Regions from separate parts of the Homo sapiens genome. Here region 2 is linked to region 1. The links are contacts of gene promoters, found by promoter capture Hi-C in human tissues and cell types (Jung and others, 2019). All regions are on one chromosome and are shown on one strand. The core of a region is centred on a gene start or on the middle of the fragment in contact, and the rest is flanking DNA. Distances in the headings are between cores, read along the strand shown. Region 1 holds the start of AHCY (adenosylhomocysteinase). Region 2 overlaps ZNF341-AS1 (ZNF341 antisense RNA 1).

The links. Contacts are between HindIII fragments. The study calls those that stand out against the background at their distance.
Region 2: a contact is called between a fragment that was not itself captured here and the fragment with the promoter of AHCY in region 1, in 1 of the 25 tissues and cell types used here (dorsolateral prefrontal cortex).

Annotation. Positions count from the first base shown.
Region 1 is chr20:34,301,821-34,306,652 of GRCh38, reverse strand. It overlaps AHCY (adenosylhomocysteinase), which reads left to right and starts at 3,298. Exons shown (of 10, transcript NM_000687.4): 1 at 3,298-3,410. The coding sequence starts at 3,383. RefSeq lists enhancers at 2,934-3,053, 3,074-3,123 and a silencer at 3,694-3,923. The HindIII fragment of the contact is 38,207 bases long and covers 1-4,832 here.
Region 2 is chr20:33,800,462-33,805,740 of GRCh38, reverse strand. The region is part of intron 1 of ZNF341-AS1 (ZNF341 antisense RNA 1); the gene reads left to right. Among named protein-coding and RNA genes, the nearest start is that of ZNF341-AS1, 8.0 kb to the left of the region's middle. The HindIII fragment of the contact is 4,512 bases long and covers 457-4,968 here.

The DNA of each region.
Region 1 (4,832 bases), core at 2,049-4,548:
TTACACCTGTAATCCCAGCACTTTGGAAGGCCAAGGCGGGAGGATCACTTGATGTCAGAAGTTCAAGACCAGTCTGGCCAACATGGTGAAACACCGTCTCTATTAAAAATACAAAAATTATCCGGGTGTGGGAGCGTGTGCCTGTAATCCCAGGTACTTGGGAGGCTAAGGTACGAGAATCACTTTGAACCTGGGAGACAGAGGTTGCAGTGAGCCGAGATCACACCATTGCACTCCAGCCTGGGCAACAGAGAGACACTCTTTCTCAAAAAAAAAAAAAAAGAAGCTGAAATAATAGGAAATTGGCTATATCAATTGCAATATATCCATAGGCTAGAACATTCTGCTGCTAGAGAGGTTGCATAAGGCCAGACTAAGGTGCTTAGACCTTCTCCTGAGACCAGCAGTCTCCAAAGTTTTGTTCATATGAACTTAACGGTACAAATATTAGCAAATATCTCATTAGCTGATATCTCAAAGCACGATATACAGTGAGGATGAGAGTCATCATTAATTAATGAGAGGGCATGTAAATTCACATTTCTTTTTTTTTCTTTTTTTTTTTTTTTTTTTGAGGCAGTCTTGTTCTGTCACCCAGGCTGGAGTGCGGTGGCGCAATCTTGGCTCAATGCAACATCCGCCTCCTGGGTTCAAACAATTCTTGTCCCTCAGCCTCCTGAGTAGCTGAGTTTACAGACGTGCACCATCACGCCCGGCTAATTTTTGTATTTTTAGTAGATACAGGGTTTCACTATGTTGGCCAGGCTGGTCTGGAACTCCTGACCCCAAGTGATCCACTCGCCCCGGCTTCCAAAGTGCTGGGATTACAGGTGTGAGTCACTGCGCCTGGTCCGTAAATTCATATTTCAAAGTGTCTTTTTCATTGTTTTCTCAAATTTTATTACATTCCTTACAACATGGCTGACAAAGACCAGCATTCATACCAGAAAGAGACCTGTCAGCTGTGTCCTTTTCTACTTGTTTGCTGTGCTGGTAATTTTCACAGTATCTGGAACTTGCCATTTCTTTGCAGGAATATTTTGAAGCCATTTTTCTGTTCTCGTAGGACAACCTAGTAACATGATCCTACGTTTAGTTAGACTGACACGACTCACTACACACTGCAATGCACTGCAGAATGCTGAAAGGGATGCGTGAGGACCCTGCTGCCCACCTCCCAGGCGTGGACCCTCGTTCCCTCAGGAAGTCTCTGCTTGACATCGGCCCTCATGACTCTCAGACAGAGGTCAGATGTACAGATCAAGTGAGACCAATACATTTACTATGTCATAGAAGACCTTAATTCTTATTTTTATTTTTTATTTTTTGAGACAAGAGTCTCCCTCCGTCGCCCAGGCCGGAGTGCAGTGGTGCGATCTCGGCTCACTGCAAGCTCGGCCTCCCGGGTTCACGCCATTCTCCTGCCTCAGCCTTGCGAGTAGCTGGGACTACAGGCTCCCGACACCACGCCCAGCTAATTTTTTTTTTTTTTTGTATTTTTAGTAGAGATGGGGTTTTACCCTGTTAGCCAGGATGGTCTCGATTTCCTGACCCCGTGATCCGCCCGCCTCGGCCTCCCAATGTGCTGGGATTACAGGCGTGAGCCACGCGCCCGGCCAGAAGAGTTTAATTCTTTTCTCATTTTTAGGTTAAAAAATGAGTAGAGGCCGGGCACGGTGGCTCACGCCAGTAATCCCAGCACTTTGGGAGGCAGAGGCTGGCGGATCACCTGAGGTCGGGAGTTCGAGATTAGCCTGACCAATATGGAGAAACCCCGTCTCTACTAAAAATACAAAATTAGCCAGGCGTGGTGGCTCATGCCTGTAATCCCAGCTACTCGGGAGGCTGAGGCAAGAGAATCGCTTGAATCCGGGAGGCAGAGGTTGGTGTGAGCCAAGATCATGCCATTGCACTCCAGCCTGGGCAACAAGCGCCAAACTCTATCTCAAAAAAAGAAAAAACAAAATTAGCCAGGTGTGGTGGTGCGTGCCTGTAATCCAAGCCACTCGGGAGGCTGAGGCAGGAGAATTGCTTGAACCCGGGAGGTGGAGGTTGCAGCGAGCCTAGATGGTGCCACTGCACTCCAGTGTGGGCGACAGAGTGAGACTCCATAAAAAAAAAAAAAAATTCAGGGGAAAAAAAGCAATTAAAAAAACATAACTATAAAAATAATACAAATTACAAAACAACCATTTGCATAGCATTTACATTATATTAGTTATAAGTAATCTAGAGATGATTAAAGTGTACGGAGGAATGTGCATAGGTTATATGCCAATACTGCCTCATTTTATATGAGGGACTTGAACATAGAAGGGTTTTGGAGTCCACAGAGGTCCTGAAACCAATTTCCCCTTCCCATGCCTGGGATGACTGAATTATACAGCAGCAAAAATGAATATACTCAAGCTATATGCATGAGTCTCATAAATATAATGCTCACAGAAAAAAGCAAGTTGCAGAAGGGTAAATACGGTTGATATATAAAGGTGCTAAACACAGAACTATTTAATGATATACGGATGCAGTAAAAGTATAAGAAATGTATGCAAACTTACTTAAATTCAGGGTGTTGGTTACTTGGAGTAAGGCGAATGTTTGGGATGTCAGTAGGTACCTGACAAATGGCAACTTAACTTTGTTTTGGTTTTTTTGAGATAGGGTCTTGCCCTTTCGCCCAGGCTCAAGTGCTGTGGTGGGATGATAGCTCACTGCAGCCTCGATCTCCAGGCTCAAAAGATCCTCCCTCCCGCCTCCGCGTCCCAAGTAGCTGGGACCACAAGCGCGCGCCACCACGCCCGGCTAATTTTTAATTTTTTTTTGTAGAGTTCAGGTCTCACTGTGTTGCCCAGGATGGTCTTGAACTCCTGGGCTCAAGCGATCCTCCCGCCTTGGCCTCCCAAAGTGCTGGGATTACAGGTGTGAGCCACCGCGCCTGGCCTGCAACTTTACTTATAATAATCTGTGTGGCAGATGTCATTTGGCCCATTTTACAGATGAGGAAATTGAGGCACAGGGAAGTGAACTGGCGGAATTTCAGTTCCGCTGGGTTTTGACACTGAATCAACTGGCTGAACCAGCGAGAGGACGGCCCGGCTGGCTCTCAGGCCTCTCCCGGCGCTCCCTTCCGGACCGGTGAGTGAGACTCCTGGGGCCACGCCTTGTGAAATTCTGAGGCTTCTTTTCAGGGATCGAAATCCCCTCCGGCTCCGCCCTGCGCGTTGGGCCCCGCCCCAGCGGGTCATGAATATGCAAGTGCGAGGAAGATATTTAAAGGCGTCGGCGCCACGCGCATATCCCTGCTCGGCGCTGCCCGCCCAGTTCCTGTTCCCAGACTGAGGCCCAGCCCCCTTCGCCCGTTTCCATCACGAGTGCCGCCAGCATGTCTGACAAACTGCCCTACAAAGTCGGTGAGTCCCAGGACCTGCAGCCGGTTGCGGCCGCCCGGCACCCGCCCGGGGCTTGTTCGTGGCGGGGGCTGCAGGGCCGACTCGGGGCTCTCTGGACCCCCTGGAATCGCAGCCTCGGCGCGTTTCTGGCCGCGCGAAGCCAGCTGGAAGTTGGAGTTCTCGCGCGGCCATGAGCGGGCCGTTCCGGGTGGCCGTGGACTACAAGTCCCAGCATGCCCCGCGACGCCGGGGCCGCCGCGCGGTCTGCGAGCCGCAAACTGGCGGCGTGCTCCGCGGGAGAGCACACCTGGCCACGGCCTGGGACGGCTGGCACCTGCCGGACCCTGCTCGGGGGGCCTGCGCCCGGCCTCCTAGGCCTGGACCGGACCCTGTCCAGCTGGGCGGCCCCGACGAGCGTCCACCCCTCTCTGGGCCTCCTACAGGGACGGCGAGGGCACCCCGGAGGGTGTATGAGGAGAGGCCTGGAAAGCGAGCCCCAGGCCGGCTCCGATCCTCCTCTCCCCTGGGACTTTGGGCCAGTTACCCAACCTGTGGGGTCCCCCACCCCTCCAGCAGGGGCAGCCTTGCAGAAATCTCGAAGAAAATTTGGAGTGGTTTGAAAAATCCTGCTGTCCCACCGATTGAAGTGTAATACAGGGATAGTTAACGTTTACTTAGTGTTTCCTGTGGGATCGGCACTGCCTTCTAGCTTTATTCTAGTCTCATGGCTCTATAGGGAAACTGTTCTCATTTTATGATGAGAATCCTGAGGCAGAGGTAACTTGCCCTCAGTCTTACAGCTGGTGGTGATGGAGCAAGATTGGAACGCAGGCCATCTAGATCTCTGAGCGCACCCTTTCACCACTGTGTGCAAGCGAATACACGCGGAACAATCCTAGTGAATTTTCAGCAAAAACCAGTTCAGTTTGGCTGGTAGCTTTTCAAGTAACTTTGACACTATTGGACCGGGTGTGGTGGCTCACCCCTGTAGTCCCAGCACTTTGAGAGGCCGAGGTGGGCGAATCACTTGAGGTCAAGAGTTCGAGACCAGCCTGGCCAACGTGGTGAAACGCTATCTCTACCAAAAATACAAAAACTAGCTGGGCGTGGTGGCGGGCGCCTTCATTCCCAGCTACTCGGGAGGCTGAGGCAGGAGGACTGTTTGAGCCGGGGAGACGGAGGTTGCAGTGAGCCGAGATTGCACCACCACGCTCCAACCTGGGCAACAGAGCAAGACCCTGTCTCAAAAAAAAAAAACAAACAAAAAAAGACACTATTAAGTCTGGAGAATGCCATCCACATTTATGGAAACACTTGCTGTATATCTGGTGATTTACGTGTGTTTACACAATAATCTTCATAGAGGTGGACGTAATCCCGTTATATAGAGCATGAAACTGAGGCCCTTGGGAGGTGACTTGCAAAGATTCTGTTGAAGTAGTT
Region 2 (5,279 bases), core at 1,463-3,962, 500 kb after region 1:
GTTTCAAATAAATGAGAGCTTAGCTGGACTTTTCCTCTATTAGTTTATATGTGAGTCTTATCTCCTCCCTCAGACTATGATTTACATTTGGACAAAAGCCATGAGTTGGATGTTGTTGTTGTTTTAATCAGCCACAACCTCCAACCCTGCACATACAGGCAGCCATTCCCAGAGGATGGTAGAGTTCATTTCACCCAATTTTGTGGTTGGAATAAGTTTTTCAAATGTGAGAGACATGCTAGAACTGTCAAGAATTCACAGGAGTATTGTTAAACATTAAGTCACATTTGTGTTTGTTCCGTAATTGAGACACTGCAATGTTTTAGCAAAGTAAAAGAGAAAAACAAAGAGGCTTCAGTCAAGCCACCTCATGGGTGCAGCAGCCCCTCCACATCTAAGCAGTCTGCCTCATCACCTCTTATCTAAGTCAAGTTGCTCCCAGGTACATAGGTAGCAAAACACTTGCTGGGTTGGAGCCATTACCCAAAGGATATATGAACAGGAAGATGCTGTGGACCTCACCACCATCAGTTTCATACAGCTGTGTGGTAAACTGAGGGTGATAACAGAGCCCCTCATGTTCTAACTCTGGGAGCCCAGAAAAATATCTTGGGGATATGACAGCAGAAGCCTCAGATTTAATCTTGAGTACTGTATTAGTCTGTTTTCATGCTTCTGATAAAGGCATACCCAAGACTGGGCAATCTACAAAAAGAAAGAGGTTTAATTGGACTTATAGTTCCATATGGCAGGGGAAGCCTCACAATCATGGCAGAAGTCAAGGAAGAGTAAGTCCCGTCTTACATGGATAGCAACGGGCAAAGAGAGAATGAGAGCCAAGAGAAAGGGGTTTCTCCTTATAAAACCACCAGATCTCATGACACTTATTCACTACCACAAGAACAGTATGGGAGAAACCGCTGCCATGATTTAATTATCTCGTACCAGGTCCCTCCCACAACAATGGGAATTATGGGAGATATAATTCAAGATGAGATTTGAGTGGGGACACAGCCAAACTATATCAAGTACCAACTACAAGCAATTAGTGTTGGCCACCTGGACCGCTGGGTTGAAAAGAATTTTGAGGCTGCATCAGAAGTTCTTGTAAAAAAAAGTGCCAAGATTGGCCCGGCATGGCGACTCACACCTGTAATCTCAGCACTTTGGGAGGCCAAGATGGGAAGATTGCTTGAACCCAGGAGTTTGAGACCAGCCTGGGCGACATAGGGACACTCAGTCTCAAGAAATAATTAAAAATTACCTGGGCATGGTGGCACACACCTATGGTCCCAGTTATTCGAGAGGCTGAGGCAGGAGGATCACTTGAGCCCAGGAGGTTGAGGCTGCAGTGAGCTGTGAACATGCAACTGCCCTCCAGCCTGAGTGACAGAGTGAGACACTGTCTCAAAAAAAGAAAAAAAAGTGCTCAAGATGGATTTGTGATGTCTACCCAGGGTATGGGATGGGAAGTGGTGACACATGGGCAAAGTAGCTGCCATCCTGGCTGAGAATTCAGCTGCCATAAATAGAGATTCACAGAGTGGACTGGCTCAATACTGGAGAGCCCTGGGCTTTGCTGGCCTGTATTTTTCTGGTCTCTCAGACAAATGCACAGCCTTTTCAAACTTTGACCAACTCGTATTAACTTATTCAAAACTGTGTGAAAAAGAATGAGCCACTGATACATGCAAGAATTTGGATGACTCACAGATATTATGCTGAGTGAAAGAAACCAGATACAAAAGCTTGTATGACTCCATATATACGAAGCTCAAAAACAGGCAAAACTAATCCATGGTGTTAGGAATCAGAATAATGGTTACCTCCAGGGAGGTACAGACCAGGAAGAGGACCCTTACAAGGTGCTAACAGGTTCAATAGCAGGATCCAGAGGTGTTCACATGGCTGTATACAAATTAATCAGTTTTTATACTTAAGACGATTGCCCTTTATGTATCTTATGTACTTTATTAAACATGTTATATTACAATTTAAAACAACATCTCCAGGCTGGGCATGGTGGCTCATGCCTGTAATCCTAGCACTTTGAGAGGCCGAGGTGGATGGATCACTTGAGCTCAGGAGTTCGAGACCAGCCTGGCCAACATGGTGAAACCCCAAGTCTACTTAAAAAATGCGAAAATGAGCCAAGCATGGTGGTGCACACCTGTAATCCCAGCCACTCAGGAGGCTGAGGCAGGAGAATCACTTGAACCCAGGAAGTGGAGGTTGCAGTGAGCCGAGATCATGCCACTGCACTCCAGCCGGGGCGACATAGCAAGACTCCATCTCAAAAATAAGTAAATAAGTAAATAAATAAATAAATAAATAAATAACATCTCTAGCTGGGCATGGCAGCTCATGCCTGTAATCTCAGCACTTTGGGAAACCAAGGTGGGAGGATTGCTTGAGGCCACAGTTCAACACCATCCTGGGCAACATAGTGAGATCTCTTCTCTAGAAAAAAATTTAAAAATTAGCCAGGCATGGTGGTGCAAGCCTGTAGTCTGGGCTACTTGGGAAGCTGAGGTGGAAAAATTGCTTGGGCCCAGGAGTTCAAAGCTACAGTGAGCTATGATGACGCCAATGCACTCCAGCCTGGGCAACAGAGGGAGACCCTGTCTCAAAAAAGAAACGAACAACAACAACAAAAATACACACACAAAGTATCTCTAATAAGAGCAGCAACAGAAGAATAGTTTTTATTTGCAAAGTGCCTTTGCACACAAAAATCCCATCTTATCTCCATCATCCCTCTAAGCCCCATGAAGTAAGCATTACTATCCACCTCCATTTTACAGTTGAGGAAACTGAGGCCCAAAGAAGTAGGAATTGACTAAAGTCACATGGTTAAAGATACCCAGCCATATATTTGTAACCTTCTTTGAAAACATTAATTATGAAATGAGGCCGGGCACGGTGGCTCACGCCTGTAATCCCAGCACTTTGGGAGGCCGAGATGGGCGGATCACCTGACGACAGGAGTTTGAGACCAGCCTCAACATGGAGAAACCCCATCTCTACTAAAAATACAAAATTAGCCAGGCGTGGTGGTGCATGCCTGTAATCCCAGCTACTCGGGAGGCTGAGGCAGGAGAATTGCTTGAACCTGGGAGGCGGAGGTTGCGGTGAGCCGAGATCACACCATCACACTCCAGTCTGGGCAACAAGAGTGAAACTCTGTCCCAAAAAATCAAAAAAATTATGAAATAAAACCTTAATTATGAAACTTGGTCTCACATAATTATACCAAATTAAATACAGAGGACTTCGCTGATTTTTAGTTGTAAAAAAGAGTTCATCCAACATTCTCTCCTGATTAAACAAAAAACAAACAAACAAAAAAACAAAACCTGAAACACTCAGCCAACTAGGAAGAGGAGAGAACTTCTCAACCTGGTAAAAGGCATCTGTGCAAAACCCACAGCTAACATCACACTTAATGGTGAAGACAAAGGCCGAAAGCTTTCCCCCTAAGATCAGGAATAAGATAAGGATGCCTACTCTCATCACTTCCAATCAACATTGTACTGAAAGTTCTTGCCAGGGCAATTAAGCAAGAAAAATAAATAAAAGGCATCCAGATTGGAAAAGCAGAGGTAAAACTATTTCTATTTGTAGATGACATGATCTCATATAGAGAAAAACCTAAAGAATACACAGAAAGCTATTAGAACTAAAATGAGTTCAGCAAAGTTCAACAATATCAACACACAAAAATCAGTTGTATTTCTGTACATTAGCAACGAGCAATATGAAAATGATATTAAGAATCATTTCCATTTACAATAGCATCAAAAATAATAAAACATTTAGCAATAAATTTAACCACGGAAAGGAAAGGCTTGTCCTCTGAAAAGTACCAAACCTTGTTGAAAGAAATCAAGGAAGACATAAATAAATGGAAACACATTCCATGTCCATGGATTAGAAGACTTAATTGTTAAGACAGCAACACTCTCCAAATTGCTCAACAGATTCAATACAAGTCTTTCAAAATCTGAGCTGCATTTTTTGCAGAAATGGACAAGTTTATCCCACACCTCATATGGAATCGCAAGAGACCCTGAATAGTCAAAACAATATTCAAAAAGAAAAATAAAGTTGAAAGATTCGCATGTCCTGATTTCAAAACTTACTGCAAAGCTACAATAAAGAAGTTTATCGATCAATTGAATAGAGTCAAGAGTACAAAAATAAACCTATACATCTATAGTCAATTGATTTTCAACAAGTGTGCTAAGACCATTAAATGGGGGAAGCATAGTCTTTTCAACAAATGGTGCTAAGACAGCTGGGTATCCAAATGCAAAGGAATGAGGCCAGGCCCTGTGGCTCATGCCTGTAATCCCAGCACGTTGGGAGGCCAAGGCAGGAGGATCGCAGGAGCCCAGGAGTTCAAGACCAGCCTAGGTAACATAGTGACACCCCAGCTATACAAAATAATAATAATAATAAATAAAATTAGCCGGGCATGGTGGTGTGTGCCTGTAGTCTCAGTTACTCAGGAGGCTAAGGTGGAAGGATCACTTGAGCCCAGGAGTTCGAGGCTGCAGTGAGCTGTGATTTCATCACTCTACTCCAGCCTGGGTGACAAAGTGAGACCCTGTCACCCAGGCTGACCCTATATGAAATGTCCAAAATAGTCAAATCCATAGAGATAGAAAGCAGATTAGTGGTTGCCAGGGTCCAGAGAGGGGGAAAAAGGAGAATGACTGCTTAATGGGTACAGGGTTTCTTTTTGGGATGACGAAAATGTTATGTAACTAGATTGTGGCGATGGTTACACAATATTGTGAATGTAATAAAAAAGAGCTGCATTGTATACTTTAGTTAAAATGGTGAGGTTTTTTTTTTTTTTTTTTTGGTAGATGGAGTCTCACTCTGTTGCCCAGGCTGGAGTGGAGTGGTGCAATCTTGGCTCACTGCAACCTCTGCCTCCCAGGTTCAAGCAATTATCCTGCCTCAGCCTCCTGAGTAGCTGAGATTACAGGTATTGCCACCACACCTGGCTAATTTTTTGCATTTTTAGTAGAGATGGGGTTTCCCTATGTTGGCCAGGGTGGTCTCAAACTCCTGACCTCAGGTGATCCGCCCGCCTCAGCATCCCAAAGTCCTGGGATTACAGGCATCAGCCACCGCACCCGACCAAAATGGTGAATTTTATGTCATGTGAATTTTATCTCAATTTTTATTTTTATTGTTTGAGACAAAGAGTCTCGCTTTGTTGCCCAGGCTGGAGTGCAGTGGCACAATCTCGGCTCACAGCAACCTCT